2 separate regions of the Homo sapiens genome follow, and region 2 is linked to region 1. The links are contacts of gene promoters, found by promoter capture Hi-C in human tissues and cell types (Jung and others, 2019). All regions are on one chromosome and are shown on one strand. Each heading gives the region's core, a stretch centred on a gene start or on the middle of the fragment in contact. The rest is flanking DNA. Distances are from core to core; before and after follow the strand shown. Region 1 holds the start of C15orf32 (chromosome 15 putative open reading frame 32). Region 2 overlaps ST8SIA2 (ST8 alpha-N-acetyl-neuraminide alpha-2,8-sialyltransferase 2).

What was found. The method cuts DNA at HindIII sites, captures the fragments that hold promoters and counts their contacts. A contact is called where the count stands out against the background at its distance.
Region 2: a contact is called between a fragment that was not itself captured here and the fragment with the promoter of C15orf32 in region 1, in 2 of the 25 tissues and cell types used here (H1 embryonic stem cells and pancreas).

Annotation. Positions count from the first base shown.
Region 1 is chr15:92,467,068-92,474,854 of GRCh38, reverse strand. It overlaps C15orf32 (chromosome 15 putative open reading frame 32), which reads right to left and starts at 3,178. Exons shown (of 3, transcript NR_161371.1): 1 at 2,333-3,178; 2 at 1,745-1,902. LOC104613533 (a long non-coding RNA gene) reads left to right here and starts at 3,309. Exons shown (of 2, transcript NR_126501.1): 1 at 3,309-3,614; 2 at 4,449-4,622. ST8SIA2 (ST8 alpha-N-acetyl-neuraminide alpha-2,8-sialyltransferase 2) reads right to left here. Exons shown (of 6, transcript NM_006011.4): 6 at 6,127-7,787. The HindIII fragment of the contact is 6,399 bases long and covers 954-7,352 here.
Region 2 is chr15:92,430,974-92,438,760 of GRCh38, reverse strand. ST8SIA2 (ST8 alpha-N-acetyl-neuraminide alpha-2,8-sialyltransferase 2) reads right to left here. Exons shown (of 6, transcript NM_006011.4): 3 at 4,386-4,514; 4 at 151-408. Among named protein-coding and RNA genes, the nearest start is that of C15orf32, 37 kb to the left of the region's middle. The HindIII fragment of the contact is 4,476 bases long and covers 2,268-6,743 here.

The DNA of each region.
Region 1 (7,787 bases), core at 1,929-4,428:
AATGAGGTGCTGACATTAGATTGAGGGTGCTGTCTGTTCTATCCCTGTGCTCCTAACTGTGGCTCTCAGGTAGAGGGAGACAGAGATTTCTGTTCCCTCAGTTGTTCAGGCCTAGAAACTGAGGTCTGGGGAGCCTACTTGTTGAGTAGCCAAAGATGAAAGATTTCAGTAAACTGGAAAGCATTCATCCATTCATTCAACAGGGATTCATTCATTATTGGGCACCTACTGCATGCCAGGCCATGCCTGCTTGCTTCAACAGTGAAGAAGGTAGGCTGAGCTAGGTACAAACTGAGTAGAACTTGCCACCAACTAGTCCTTGCCCCCTTGGCCTGAGAAAGCAGCCCCAGAGGAGAAGCAATGAGTTGCCAAGCATCTAATGCTCTGAGTGGGTGAAGAACTTAAGGCTGTATATCTAGTTTAATCACAAGAGCAACCCAGCCCGGCAAGCTTTTAATTTCCACTTTACTGATCATTGAGTGGCTGGATCCACTCTGCTCAGTCAGGAAGCTGAGGAGGCAGGGGTAGGGCCTGGGCCATCTGAGGTCCCCTATTTTCCCTGATGCTGCAAAGGAGGGCCTGATACCCCTTCCCTGCAGTAACCCAGCCTGATGCAAACACTTAATTTCAAGGCAAGCTGTTGGAGCAAGGGAGCCGATTAGGTGAGCTGGTAGCGTCTTGTAGCATTCAAGGACAATGCCCTGCACTTTAGCAGCCCATTTCGCTCTCCAGCTCTTCATTCGTTTGCTCTGTCCTCTGCTTTGTTGATTTCACTTCTCGCTTCCAGGCTGGCCTCTGCCAGAGAGTGATTCCACATTTTCCCAGCAGCCTGGCTGCCTCCCATCTCATCCTCAGACACTGAGCCAAGTGGCCCGGTATGTGCAAAGAAGGATGCTCAGCTTCCCTGGCAAATTCGAAAGGCAGCCGCAGCAGCCATGGGCCCAGGGCTATGTAGCCTGAGCCTGTCGCTGGTTCTGCACTAGGAGCATTTCCACTGGGTGGACCCGGGTGACAGCTGGGGTCGGAGAGGCGCTGGCGGCTGAGCCAGGTGTGGGGACAGCAACTGTGGGAACTGGCTGGATCACTCACCTACGAAGTCTAATGCTGTGGGTTTGGCTTGATCTCAGGCCTCAGTTTCTAGGCCTGAGCAAAATAGGTACATTTCTCTGTCTCCCTGTACCTGAAAGCTGCAGTTAGGATCATAGTGATAGAACAGACCACACCCCTAAATTAATGTCAGCACCTCATTTAATGTTGGCATGGCTTTGTCTTTCTGCAACACCCTGAGTCGAGTAGCTAGCTACCTTCCATTAGCTGAGTGTCTGCCGTGTGTCAGCCACTGCACTGAGCACTTTGACTAGACTGCTCCTTCCTCCATCACCCCCTCTGAAGCTGGTGTTATTTATCCCCATTTTATGACCTTCATCAGCTTCAGTGGCTGCAGATCAAGGTCAAGCTTAGAGGCTTCCTGCACCACTCTGGAACCTGAGGGCTTCAGTTTAAATTCCTGCTCAACCATTTCCCAGTTTTTTGGCCTTGGGGAAGTTTATCAACCTCTTGGTTCAGTTTCCTCCTCTGCAGAGTGAGAATAATAATAATGTCAACCTCAAATGGGTAGCTATGAGAATTAAATGATCTAGCCCATGTAAAGCGTCTAGTTAGTGCTCAGTGAACATTTCCTGTTCTTTTCTGGTCCTCAGACCCTCTTTCTGTTTCTGTCATCCTCTGGCCCTTCACTGTGTACCTCTCAGAGGCTATTCAAGGTGATGGTTTGCTCATTACCAGTCCTGGCTGACTCTCATAAGATGCCTCTTCTGGTGCCTCTCTATGCTTCCGCAATTGAATTTGCAATCTGTACACACATCAGCTACACAGAATATCTGCTTTGGGTCGAGGATGTGTCTGTGGAAAACAAGAGAGGAAAGCCAGTCACCCAAAGTAGCTGCCACAGAAACAGCAGTGCAGTGAGGCTCTGGTGTCTTGCCCAGTGGTCTAAACGCCCAAATCGGCCACCTGGCCCCTAGTTTCTTGCCTGGAGAACCTGGGAGCAGGGGTGATATGCAAAGTATTTACCAATACAGAGGGCCCCTGACCAATCAGAATGGACCTTGGCCACAGTGCTGGAGCACAGGGCACAGGGGGTGCTCAGAGCTGTGGCTCTTGACCACCTGGCAAGGAAGCATTTGAACAATTGACATTGCTATACAGGTGTGCTCTGGGTCTGTATCTGCTTTGCCAGTGGGAAGAGCCAGGGTGGAGCAGTAGCCTGTGAGGAGTCTGGGCTATAGGAAGGTGAGTTCTGTCTTCCTGTCACTCCTGAGTGCAGGCTCACCTTATGACAAGATGGTTGAAGGTTGGTAGAATTAAGTGGCCTTCAGGGCTTTTGAGCTGAGATGGTGTTAACAATGTTGGCTTCAGCATCAAACCATCCACTCGTGAGCTTTGGCATCTTAAATGAGTCTTTAATTTCTGATAAACTTGGTTGTTTGATCTGTAAAATGGGTGCAACACCCCAACAAGGGCTAGTATAGAAAGCATCTCACACAGGGTCCAGACACATGGCCTCGCCGAGAAAGGGGGAGCCGTTCCTTCTCCTCTTGGGGAAGTCTTGGTGTTCTTCCTATTAGGTGGGACCCCTTCCCCACTCTGGGGGTCAGCCGGGTGCAAGTCTTCCTTTGAAGCATCCACACTTGTTCTTTTGTTCATGCAGCAGGAGTTTATTAAGTGCCTACTCTGTGCCAAGCACAGTTCTAGTGGTCAGGAATGCCTCGGTGAACATGCCAGACAAGGCCCCTCTCCTCACAGAACATGAAGGGGAGGCAGAGAACATGGTAGACAGGCCTTTCCTCCCACTGCAAGCATGCAGTAATCCGGAGACCTGGATGCCACTAACACAACGGCAGTGGCAAAAAAACCCACCAGACAAAACCGAGCCCAGCCTGGAATCAGGAAAGGAAACTCTCAGAAGCCAGAAGCAAAAGAAAGACCTCACACCAGGGGCCTGAGAGGGGCTGCCATGGAAGCGGTCACAGAAATTCAGGAACTGAGTCTGGGTCAGTGGTTCCCAGCTGGGGCTACACCTCTGTGTGACCTGGTGAGCTTCAGGAGATGCCCGGGCCATACCCCAGACCAAGGAATCAGATTCCCTGAAGGCCAGACCTAGGTTTCAGGAGGTTTTAAAGCTCCTCCAGTGGTTCCAATGTCCAGCTGAGCTCATAAAGGTCTTTGGGGTGGGGCTAGGGGGTGGAGTTCTAAAGCCTGCACAAGCCAGGAAAGAGCCTCCTGGGTAAGGCAAGGCTCATGAAATTCTCTGAGTGGGTCAAATGGGGACTGGAAAAATTCCACCCACTAGCTCAGCTAATGGGTAAAAATGCTGGACATTTATCTGGAGCTGCAGGGGGTAAAGTGTCATCCTTGGGAAATTCAAAGCTGGCCTGTACCTGCTGAGAGCACCAGGGATATGGTCACATTGCAAGCCTGTTGCCAGCACCCCAGGCAGAGTCATCAACAATTACTTTGGAGGAGGGCCACTTCCACCTTCCAGGGCATAGGTGACCCCTGTGGAAAACAAGTACCCCTGGAACATCCTAGAAGTGGAGGTGGACCATAAACTAGTGAGCAGATATGTCATTGTTTCTCAGTTCTGACCGTGAGCCAGGAAGATGTCCGTGATCAGCTTCCAGAGATGTTTAAACTTGTGTGGAGTGTGGCCTGAGCACTGGGATCTTTTAGGAGGGTCCTTGGGGTTGAGAACTACAAAATAAATGAGATAATTTAGTTTATGAAGACCACCTAGCAGGATAATGTGTCGTGTAATAGAAAGTAATTAGCTGAGGGAGACAAGGAGCAGGCTCCCCAGGAGGTGACATTCAATTTGAAGCATGAAAGATGAGACAGAGAGGGAAGGCAAGGAGCTGGGAAGCAGATTTCCAGGCAGAGGGCGCAACAAGTGCAAAGGCCCTGACACTAGAATAACAGGGAGCCAGAGGGAGGAGGGCTCAAGGTCTTGTAAGCCATGGTAAGATGCTTGGAATTTTCTTGCAAGGATGAAGGAAAGCCACTGAGGGTTTAAGCAGGGCAATGGTGTGATCTGATGTTGGACAAGCAGAATCCTGAAAACTCACAGCTGCATACATTTCACTTGCTTTATACCACTGAGCATCCCCACTCCCTCTACCCAATTTCTCTATCTACCTTGTCCTGTATTTGCATTTTTGCAATAACTGCATAAAGGAGGTCGGTAGGTGTCTTCTCCATTTTACAGATGGAAAAATACCAGAGCCAAGTCTCATTCATGCCCTCTAGGTTCTTGAGTGGCAGGCTTTCAGATCATCTGGTACTCCTTCCAGAGCTCCTGACCAGAGATGGGGCATTTGTGAACACAAGATACAGCCAAGCAACCTGTCCCGCTGTTGTTATTACAGTGAGTTATATTCTTGCCCACCTAGGCCACTGGAATGAGAATGCAGTAAAACAGCTTGCCTCAGAGTGGTCTTCCCTGGAACACACAGCTTCTGTTAAGCATTCATGATTCTGACGGGCCAGTCATCCCTTCATTGACTTTGTCCAGCAGCTCCACCATTACAGTCTCATTTTAGAAAATAAAGACACTTGGAAACAAATTGAAAGGGCGTTTTCCTGCACCAACCCCATTTGACTTGCCTCAGCATGCTGAATGGAGGGCTGCACTCCCCCCATGACTGCCTGGACCCATCACTCTAGGGTCCATGTGGGTTGCATGGCAGTCCTCCACTTTTTGGCCATTGGATCCTCATTTTCTATTAATTCCTTAAGGGATGGCCGCTCATAGCTGGTTCTGGGTCAGTTTTGGAGAATGCTTTTAAATATTTAAAAATGTTGTCATGACTGGAGAACTTGAGGTCTTTGTTGGCATGGTTCTTGGAAGCCCACAGTAGCCCCATTTCCCATCCCCCAGGTTCTAGGGAAAGGTGGCTGAGGAAATGGTGAGGAAGACTGAGAAAGGCCACAAGGGACCTTTAGTGCTCTTTGTTGGGTGGTTCTATTGGGCTTTGGCTGCAGACAGCTAGGACGATTCTAGAGAAACTATGATCTGGGGCTGGATGGCTCAGTGGACTATATATGGAAATTGCCCTGTCACCTGGATTGCTAAGAACAGAAATTACATTACCCCCATCATAAAGCCCCAAACAACTAAGATATTGCTTCTAGATGGTAACCATGGAAACATCCCATTGTTGTGGATGACCTGCCACCAGAACAAAAGCCTGTTTTTTTCTGCTTCCATGAGGAGTGGCATATAGTGCTCCCCACTCCACACTCCCCTCCTTTCCTGCTGTCTCACAGCATTGCTCCAGGTCAGGGCTCAGGGACCCAAGAAGAAGGGATACCACTCAGCTCTCTGGGCTCACTCTGCTCCTGGTGAATGCCAAGGGAAGAGCCCTGAAGACAGGAAGCAAAGAATAGAGATAAAGATGAGAAGAGATGACATTCGGCAGTGTTGGTGAGAGACAGAGGCTGGGGCAGGCTGTCAGTGTCATTGGGGATAGCATTAAGGACATTCATGAGGCAGTACACATGTCTGGAGTCCCATCTGACTGGCATCAGTAAACATCCTCTTCCATTCATTCTGGAGAGGGAGCCTTAATTAGGCATGAAGAGATTTATCAAAAAGCAGCCCCCTGGAGTTGTTAGTCTCCCTGCCATCTGGAAGGATGGTTTCCTACCCTCAACAACAGCAGTGGGAATGACTGATGGGGTCCTATAACTCCACCTCCCAGGACTCGTAAAACCCAAATGGCTTTCGTCCTTCCCAGAAAGGAGTGAGATTTTGCCTGTGCTGATGGGGTTCATGCTGAGGTTTGTTGGGTCTCTGTGTCTAGGCCTCTGCATAGGGCTAGTTTTCAGTTTACAGTGATCCAACCACAAAGATGAACAGGAAAAGCCCTGAAGTGAGGATGAGAAGACCTGGATGAACATTCTACCAGGAAGCCGTGAGGCTTCATGCAGGTTTTTGGCCTCAGTTTTATGACCTATACAACGGGGATAATGATTTCTGCTTTGGTCCAACCCACATGATTTTTCAGAGGTTCTTGTGATATTATAGATGCAAAATGACTTCCTTAAGTATAAAGCCCTCTACAGGTATTAAGGATTTAATCCAACAAACATTTATTGAGCAACTGCTGTGTGCTATGCACCACGCCTAGTGCTGTGATGGATACAGATGAATAAAACACAGTCCCTGCCCTTGGCAAGCTTACAGTCTAAGAACAGTCAAAGGACAAGTGCACAAATAACTATAATACAAGGCAGAATATGGTAAGTGCCATGAGAAAGGTACAAATAAAGTGCTACGGTGGTTCAGCAGAGGGAGAGATCCCAGTGGTTGGTACATCAGGGAGGGCTTCATGAAGGACGTGGTTTCCGCATGGGCTTTGAAGGGAAGAAAAGGGAGCATTCCAGGGGATGGGGATAGCAAGACCAAAGGCACAGAGACAGTAAAACGCAGGCACCCTTTCCAGGAAAAACAACTCTCCTAGGCTGACCAGGGGAGGGTGTAAAGGAAGAATGGGGCCTTATCCGGTGGTCTGTAATGTCAGAATAGAGAATTGTACATTTGTTCACGGGCCGGGGAACTTTTAAAGGTTTGTGTGCAACGGGAGAGGAAAATCACTGTGCATGTTCAGGATGGACGGGACCACGTGTCAGTGTGCACAGAGGTAATCTGGGAGATGAGACTGTTGCTGAAATAGTCCAAGTGACAAAGAGTCGAGATTAGTGCTAGTGGGAAGAATTAGCAAGGCAGGACAGGGAAGAATAGTCGAAGATAACGTCAGCATCTCAGACTGGGTGGCTGACGGGATCACGGGTCTTTTACTAGAAAAAGGAGGGATTGTGGGGGAAGGGGACACAGATGATCCACTTGGCTTCTGACTTGTTGAGTTGATGGTGCTGCCGTGGGAGCAGATGGGGTGAGTGTCCCTCCAGCGGGTGTAATCCCAGCCTAGAGCTCAGGAGAGGGCTGGGTTGCAGAGAGGAGCTGGGGCAGGGGCAGCTTAGGAAGTTGCAGCCGGGTCTGAAGGCAGGTGTGAGGTTGCTGATGGAGAGTGCGGAGGGACTCAGGAGAGGACGCCAGTGTAAGGCATGTCCATGTGGTGGGACAAGGAGAAGAGAGGGGAATACTGGTCAGATCTACCTTGATTCCTTTGTCAATCAAAGTAGGGGTTTCAATAAATAAATAATAAATAAAAAAATACATACATATATAAATAAATACATGGTTGAGAGGGATTGGGAAAGAAGGAGGAAAAAAACACAAGAATGTGGCATTCTGGGTGCCGAGGGGCCAGGGAGCGTCTAGGAGGGGTCGCTGCAGAGCCAAGTGGCGTGGAGAGCTGGGAGGTGAGAGGGGCAATGTGGAGGCGCTGGGACGCTGCTGCCAGGCTGGGGGGAAGCCGAGGGGCATCAAGAGGAAGGGCAGTTGTGGGTGCTGGAGGCCCTTCCTGCGGCTAGTGGAGGAGGTAGGGAAGAGGCGGCAGGAGCCAGCCCAGGTGGAGTCAGTGTGTGCTGATGTGCAGAGGCAACAGAGATGGACGAGAGAGGGTGAGGGTGTACAGGAAACGTTAACTGGTGGGGATGACGTTTCTCAGAAAGGGGAAGGAGAAGAGATTTTCAGGGTAGATCTCATTTCAGAAGGCTCCGTCTCTTCCATGAAGTGGAATGACAGGGGCCTGTTGGGGCTTGAGGTGAATGGAGGTCGGAACCACTCGGGTGGCTGATGGCGGGCAGGCTGGGTATCTGACAGG
Region 2 (7,787 bases), core at 3,256-5,755, 37 kb after region 1:
CAAGTGATTCTGATGAGCAGTCATGGTTGAGAGCAGGGGCTAACTCCACCAGGGCCTCTTGTTTCAATCTCTTGGGACAGCTGGCAATGCTCCACTGAAACACAGCCTGCCCGCCGCTCTGGCCCCAGAGTGCCTGCTGGGGCATGTTACCTGATGACGAAGCTGTGGGCGTCAATCTCCTGCCCACAGCCGCTGTTCAGCAAGACCCCCGAGTTGCCCACGATGGCACAAGTCCCAAAGTGCTTATTCTTCAGTGGCGAAGTCCTGGGGAGGAGCTCGTAGAGGTTCTGGGACACATTCATGGTGCTGTCTCGATCGAAGATGTAATGAATAATATCTCCAGGCTTCAGGGTTCCCTTTAGGACAGAAATGTCCTTTTCAGCATCCAAGAACTTTAAAATCTGCTTCCTGTGAAAACCAAACATGCGTGAGGAAATTCTCCAGGGTGCCAGCTGCCCTTTGCCAGCCCAGCTTTTCCTATCCAGGGTCGCCCTGCACGGTGGCTGCAGCCCAGCAAACACGCAGAGTATGATGAGAGTTCAGATGCCCTCGAGAACAGGTTCCAGCCAGGGATGGCCAGAAGTGGCCCAGAAGCAACTACGGTGGTGGCCAATATGGGGGTTGCCAGGGTTACACCCTCTTCCTTTGCTAGGTGAAAACTGCCCTGTGGAATCACTCCATTAGGGCTGGAGTGAGCTCCTCACAGCGGGCCCCAGAAGGAAGGGTGGCCCACCACCCCAGTTTCCCCAGGACTGCCTGGCTCGGGCACTGAAAGCCCCATGTCCCTGAAAGCCCCACAGTCTGGGGCACACCCAGACATTTGGTGAGCTTACATTACCCTCACTGTCTTAGGGGGATTTAGGGCCATCCTCTGACGGGGATGAAAATGAATGGCTAGGTATAAAATCTAAGTTTCTCTGCTACTCCCACACTTCCTAGATTTTGAAAAAAGGATAATAAATTTGTCTAGGAGCAGAAAGCCAGATGACAGGCGCCTCTCACTCCTTACCGGCCCATTTTCTTCCACGGAAGGTTTCTCTGGGCACATTGCAAAGGGGCTTTCTGGGGGGATGGATACTGTGACGTGTATGGACACTTTCTGCCTTTGAGACACCGAGAGGATGGCCTGCCATCCTGCAAGCTGGTGCACGTCCCCTTGCTGCCCCCTCTAGTTGCTCTCTAGTGTTTATGGGGGGATTGTAAACATGGACCCCTCCCAGTTCCACGGAGAAGGGCTCCTTTGCATTGTTTCAGAACGAAGCACAGCTCTCTAGGCTCTGGGGTAGCTTTGATTTAGAGAAAGTTCTCGAATCGAATCATCTAGCAAAGCACAAAGAAAGGATGGAGTGGGGTCAGGAAAGGGATGGGTGTCCTCTTAGCCTTGCCAGAAAAGCTTTACCTGAAACACACAGCCTTCTGCCAAGGAACCTGAAAATCCTAGCTGGGCGTTTTACTTAAAGAACTGTTTAAATCACCTGAGATTTTAAGAAATGATTCCAGTCATAAAGAGAAAGGAATTGAGTACCTAGATAAGCTGAAATTAATTTCATATTCTGCTGCAAATTCCTATCTAGAACAGATACAAAGATGCTGTTCTTTGTTTTCAGAGTCCTGGAGGTGCAGAATTTTCATGCACTTTGCAAATGTTAGACGCTGCAGGATGGCTGTCCCATCTCGCAGATAGTAACACTGAGGCCTGAAAGCCTGCTGGATTTGAGATGTTCACAACCTATGGTACGTTCCAGTAGGCTGCACATTCAGTCACTTGGGGAACCTTTAAGTATTTCAAATTTCCAGGCTGACATGTGAGAAATCTTGATTCTGAGAGTGGCCCAGTTCTCAGCATTGCTCTCAAAAGCTCCCCGGGTGACTTTAATGTGTGTCCAGGTTCAAGAGCCTCCGGGGCAGCCAGGGGGCAGCTAGAACACTTGGTAAGCTCGGCGCGTCTCATCCATTGTCTTTCCTTATTGATGACCTGCCTCTCTTGCTATCATGTAGGGGAAACCACCCTTGTAGAATAATTCGTATCTGTTGATGGAAAACAGAGGCACTGTTTTTATTTACTGTGCTTTACCAAGGATTATATGACTTGACAAACTAATATAGTTGGGAAATTGCTGAAACCTTTGCAATTACTTACCCCAAAGCATTTAAAAACAAAGAGAGCCCCTAGAAAGCCCATAAATAAACACCTCTGTGAGTGAATTAATTTCTAACTAATTAGGAGAAATTACCATCAATTATTAAACATCATTCCAAATCACTTGCAGAATCTTTTATTATGAATAATCTTGGTGATTAATTGAAGCTGGAGGAAATTCTTTTTCCCTCTGGGTAAAGGTACATTGTTGCTGCTGAAGGGACTGTGTTTGCAGGGTCTTTATGAAGGACACAGTCTCGTCTTCACAAGGGGTGGGGGAGCTATTTCTCTATCCAATGGTTGGAGAAAGGGACATTGGGGACCATGGGTAGCTCATACTGGCAGGAGGATTTCATTCACGGTGGTGTAGTGGGGAGAATGGTGACCCCCTCTAAAATATATGCCCACCTCCTAACCCCTGGAACCTGTGAATGTGACCACATGTCAAAAGAACATCTTTGCGGATGTAATTAACTTAAGGATCTGGAGATTAGATCCTGGATTACCCGGGTGGGCCTTAAATACAATGACAGGTGTCCTTATAGGAGACAGAAGAGAAGAAGATAGAAGCACAGAGGAGAGGGCCACGTGAAGATGGAGGCAGGGGTTGGAGTTCTGCGGCCACCAGAGGCTGGAAGCGGTGAGAGGATGGGTTCTCCCTTGGAGCCTGCAAGGGGGTGCTCAGAATTGTGGCATCCAGAGCGGTGCAAGAATACATTTCTGTTGTTTTAGGCCGCCGCCGCGTTGTTGGTAATTTGTTACAGCAGCCCTAGGGAGCTAATGCAGTTGGGGTTGCTGACTCCACGGTGTCCCTGATCAAAGGGGGCGGTTGTTAGGGCTTCGTGAGGGGGATGGAGGGCCACCAGGAGGCCTCTGAAGAGGCGGTAAGTAAGGAGTGCAGGGTGGCAGGGAGTCAGCTACTTCAGATGGTTTCTCAGCTGCTAGGTCCCCAGAGCTCATGCCTTTCAATTCCCCAGCCCTGCACAGGTCCCAAAACTAAGCTTCAAGAACTAGGGTGCAGAGGCATTTCCATTTTGACAGTGAGCCTTGTGGAGGGGGCAACTCCCTGCTCTGCGTGGTGACATTGCTGATGGCTGCTCTCCTCTCTCCCCATGGTATGGCCTGGGATGGTCATCAATCATTCCCCGTCTGGTCCTGCCTATCGTCCCAACCTTACCCCCCTATTCCTTGCCTCCTGCTTCCTGCTCCTGCAGCACTGTCCACAAGCACCAGATCACAGACTCTGTGCATGTGGGAAGCAGCTTGGTGAACTCCTAATTATCCTTCAAAACCCACTGCTCCTGGCCAGCCTTTCCTGGCCAGTCTTCTTAGTCCTCTTACAAAATGAATGACTCTTTGCTCAGTATGGCCTGTTTATTTCCATCTATGTGTAAGATGCAGCACCACCTCATGTGTATGTCATACCACGCTGTCTTGTCTTTGCTTATATTCATGTCCCCAGCTAGCATGTCTGATTCATGCTAGCACTCCTGGGGCCCCAGCACGATGCCTGGAACTGAATAGTTGGATTATACTTACAAATATTTGCTGGGTCAATCATGGCTATATCTAAGCTAAGTGTCCAAAATGCCGAAGTTGTAATTCCTTCTCTACGGTTCCCCATTGCCACTACCCGATGATGGCTGCAGTGCTCTGAAAACATCACTCTGCACAGATCAGGACGAGAGCTGCTCTCTGGCTAAACAGACCTCTGCTTTCTGGTCGGGTGTCATGTCAGTTCCTGGGTTCTCCGGATGCCCCTATGGCTCTAGGTTTTCATTTTCACGTTGTTAGGGAGGAGCAGCCTATACAAGCCCAAGGGCTGAGAGAGGGAGCAGCTCTCCAGGAACAAACTGGAGGACTGTCACTGAAAGGGGATGTGACTCCCAGGCAGACCCCAACAAGTAAGGACTCTTTATGCCTGGGAAGAAGCAGCCACCTGTGGCCTCCACTGCCCAGATTCCCTCTGCTGCTGACCCGAGACTCAAGGTTTGCTGCTTCTAAGCCCAGAACCTCAGCGGGTGTTCCTGCCACCGCCTGGCCCCAGTCGCCACATACACAGGCTGGGCCGCTAGGCTTGTCTCGGGTTTTTATTTCCGATTGATCACTTACAGATGAAACCTGCCTCAGTGGGAGGTAAACATTTTATTTCTATCCTGACTTCTTTAGATGACGAAGAGAAGCAATTTGCCCGTGTATGCTCAAGACCAAGTCTACCTCTTGTCCTGTAGGTAATTACCAGTACCTGATCCTCAGAGAGAGCGTCTGGTTATGTCTCCATTTGGACGAGGCTGGCTGGATGTTGTGCTTGATGCTTTCATTACTTCTGTCAACAACAGCTGGTGATGAGGAGCCGTTTATTACAACTTCAGCTCTGGAAGGGAAAAAAAAAGAAAGAGGGTAGACATGATGTGTTAGCAAGCCGACGACAAGTCTAATAGTTTTGTTTTTGCACGGGCTTGAATGTAAACTTCTCCAGAAGAGCAAAATTGCAGTTATTACCTGAGAAGAGAAGGAAGTCTATTTATCTTCCAGTAATGCAGAAACTCTGTCCCTAAGGTATAACCTACATACATTGTTGGAGACAGGAAGGAGGGTGATAAACTTATTCTTCTTCCCCTGCCCCTAGTGATTTTTTTTTTCCTGGTAAAACCTGGCAGTCACTGTCAGAAGAGTAATATTTCTTATTCAAGCTATTGATAAGAAACTCTACAAGGAGCAGGTATATGAGCAACAAAGTATCAAATGATGGTCTTACAAACTTAAAAGAGAAAACAAGAACTCATACCAGGACAATGTCATTGTAGCCTGTGGCTTCACCCTCCTCCCTGGCAGCCCCATCACTCTCTTGAGGGTAATTCTGAGATATGCTCCTTGAAACATGGACCTTGTTACACAGTCATCTGTGCTGTGTCTGTCCCTCATAGGAGACTGTACGCAAGGGATCTCCCACATTCATTTTATATTCCCTAATGGTCTAACATAGCGGGTGCTCAATAAATAAGTATTGTTGAATTTAGGTTGAAATCGATCCCGGGGGAGCCTGGAGTGAATGAAAGAACTGGCTGGCTTTATACTCCCTGGGTGGATCACGATTCTGGGTAAACACCCCCTTTCCATCTGACTCAGGAACACCAGGTATTATAGGACTGGCTTGAATTCAGAGGCTTGAAATCTATGCTAGTAGGTTTCTATAAACTAGGTTACAATTCTATCTTTAAAGGCAGTGTAAGAGTTAGCCGCCTTGCTGCTGGATGCACACAGATATATGTGGGTCACATCCAAAGTTCTTTTTGTCTGTGCTGACAGCAGATTCTCCCAGTTAGAATAAGTGGATTTGTGATGACACATTCTGAAGCTTTAAAGAGTTCAAACCAAACATCTGTGTCCTCTCCATTTATCTTGAAACAGCCAAGTTAAAAAAGATGAAATCCTGTTAGTGAGTTCTAAACCTGACGCTCCACTTTGACTTTTTTCTTTTTTTTTTTTTGGAGACAGAGGCGGGCTCTGTCACCCAGGCTGGGGTGCAGTGGCATGATCTCAGCTCACTGCAACCTCCACCACCCAGGCTCAAGCAATTCTCCTGCCTCAGCCTCCTGAGTAGCTGGGATTACAGGCGAATGCCACCACACCCGGCTAATTTTTGTATTTTAGTAAAGATGGGGTTTCGCCCGTTGTCCAGGCTGGTCTTGAACTCCTGACCTCAGGAGATTTGCCTGCCTCGGTCTCCCAAAGTGCTGAGATTACAGGCATGAGCCACCATGCTTGGCCCTAGTTTGACTTTTGCAGGTAGAGAAGGACTTCGCTTAGGGGTGCATGTTGTCTCACACATTCCCTTCATGCACCCACCTCCATTCCTCAATATTTCTGACTCCTTCTGGCTGATATCACTTCTCTTGAATTCAAATATCTGTAACTTCGCAGAGGATAGAGAATTGACGAGTTTTGAGTAAGGCAGAGGAACTCTTCCTAGCATGCAGGCTTAAGGGAGCTTCCGAGAGGGTACACAAGACCTAACCCTTTGGAATTTTTACTGTTTTCATGCAAGACGCATTGGGTACAGTGGAAAGATTTCATAAGCTGTGTGACTGTGGGTCGATAGCTTTACTTCTCTGAGCCACAGATTGCCCATTTATAGAAACAAGGTGTAGAAGAGACAGATATCCATCTCGTGAGGTTCTGGAATTTTCAAAGGAGCACCGATGTTTCTGGCATGCCCCACTGGCTGCCACCTCATGAGGCTCTAGCAGGAGCTGGCATTGCTGCATCCTTTTGATACCACCAACTTCTATGCAGAACACAGGCAGGGGCACTGACCTCAGCGACACAGAATTAGCGGCTTCACCCCAGCTTTGTTGAAGCCTACCTCAGTAGGCACGCACAACAGAAATGCTTTAATGTTGGTGATGAGGAGTTATCGCACTAAGAGGCTAGCTGATGTACTCATCAGAAATCAGTGACTGGGCTCTGGTGTCTCATGGCTTAAGGTGGGTTCAGTCTAGGGTGATGCTTCTCAGAGACTGGGGCACACTGGATGGCACTAGGCTCAGGAAAGAAGGAGCTGCAGAGGAATTCTCCCGTGGATGCCTGGAGAGGAGACCTGCTTGGAAACCTCCAGGAAAGGTTTCCAGACTTCTCCTGGACACAAGATGGCAAAGGCTGGAAAGGGAGAGAGATAAATGCTGGTGTGGGTAATGGTAAAATTCCATTTCTCTCTCCACTTTCCAGGGTGAATTTGGATGGCATCCTGCATAGCCCATCATGGTCTTAAGGGATTTTAACCCTGGCTCAGTTGCAGTCTACCTGGGGGACTTGGAAAAGTCACTTCAGATTTCTAGACTCTGCCTTCTTATCTGTAAAATAAAGGGGATGGATTAGAAAACTCCAGGGTCCACCTCGGTTCACAGGTTTTACATGCTGTGTGCTGCACAAACACGTTGGATTGGTGAGTTGAGATATTCCTTTTCAATGAATGTGTTCTCCTGTTTCCAGTCCCCTCCCCCATTTCCAAAATGACACTAGAGGTACATTTCAGGCTTAAGTTGCTTCACCTCCCGACTCCTGAACTTCACTCCCAGTGACCTTCTTTTCATGCCACAGATATATCCACAGTAGTAGTAACAAGCATCAAATAAGTACCTTTAACATATCAGGTGTTGGGTTAGATAGATTCTTACATTTGGTGGTTCTAATCCTTAAACACTCCTCAAAGAAGACACTGCAGTATTATTCTAATTAAATGGGGAAGCCAAGGCTCAGAGGGGTAAAATCACTTGCCTAAGGTCCTGGCTAACAAACACTGGGGCTGAGGCCAGGGCTGCCTGGCTCCCAGGACTGTTTTTTTCCACTTCTCATACTTGATTCATATGAGACTGTGGCCCCTCAAGCTACCACGAGGACTTGGGCTTCAGGGGCAGGATCTTCTTTCTCCGAAATGGGGCATCATTTCATAATAGAACAGAGAGAGACTTAGGAGCACATGGCCTTCTTTCTTTCTGCCATATTCACATTTCACCTGGCATAACACGGGCTTCATTCATAGCTCCAAGGTGGCTAAGAGGTCATTAGAGAGCTAGAAGCAATGATGTCAGGGACAGAGGGAACAGTTTCTCGAGTCAGTCATGCAGGGTCAGGGACAGATGTACTT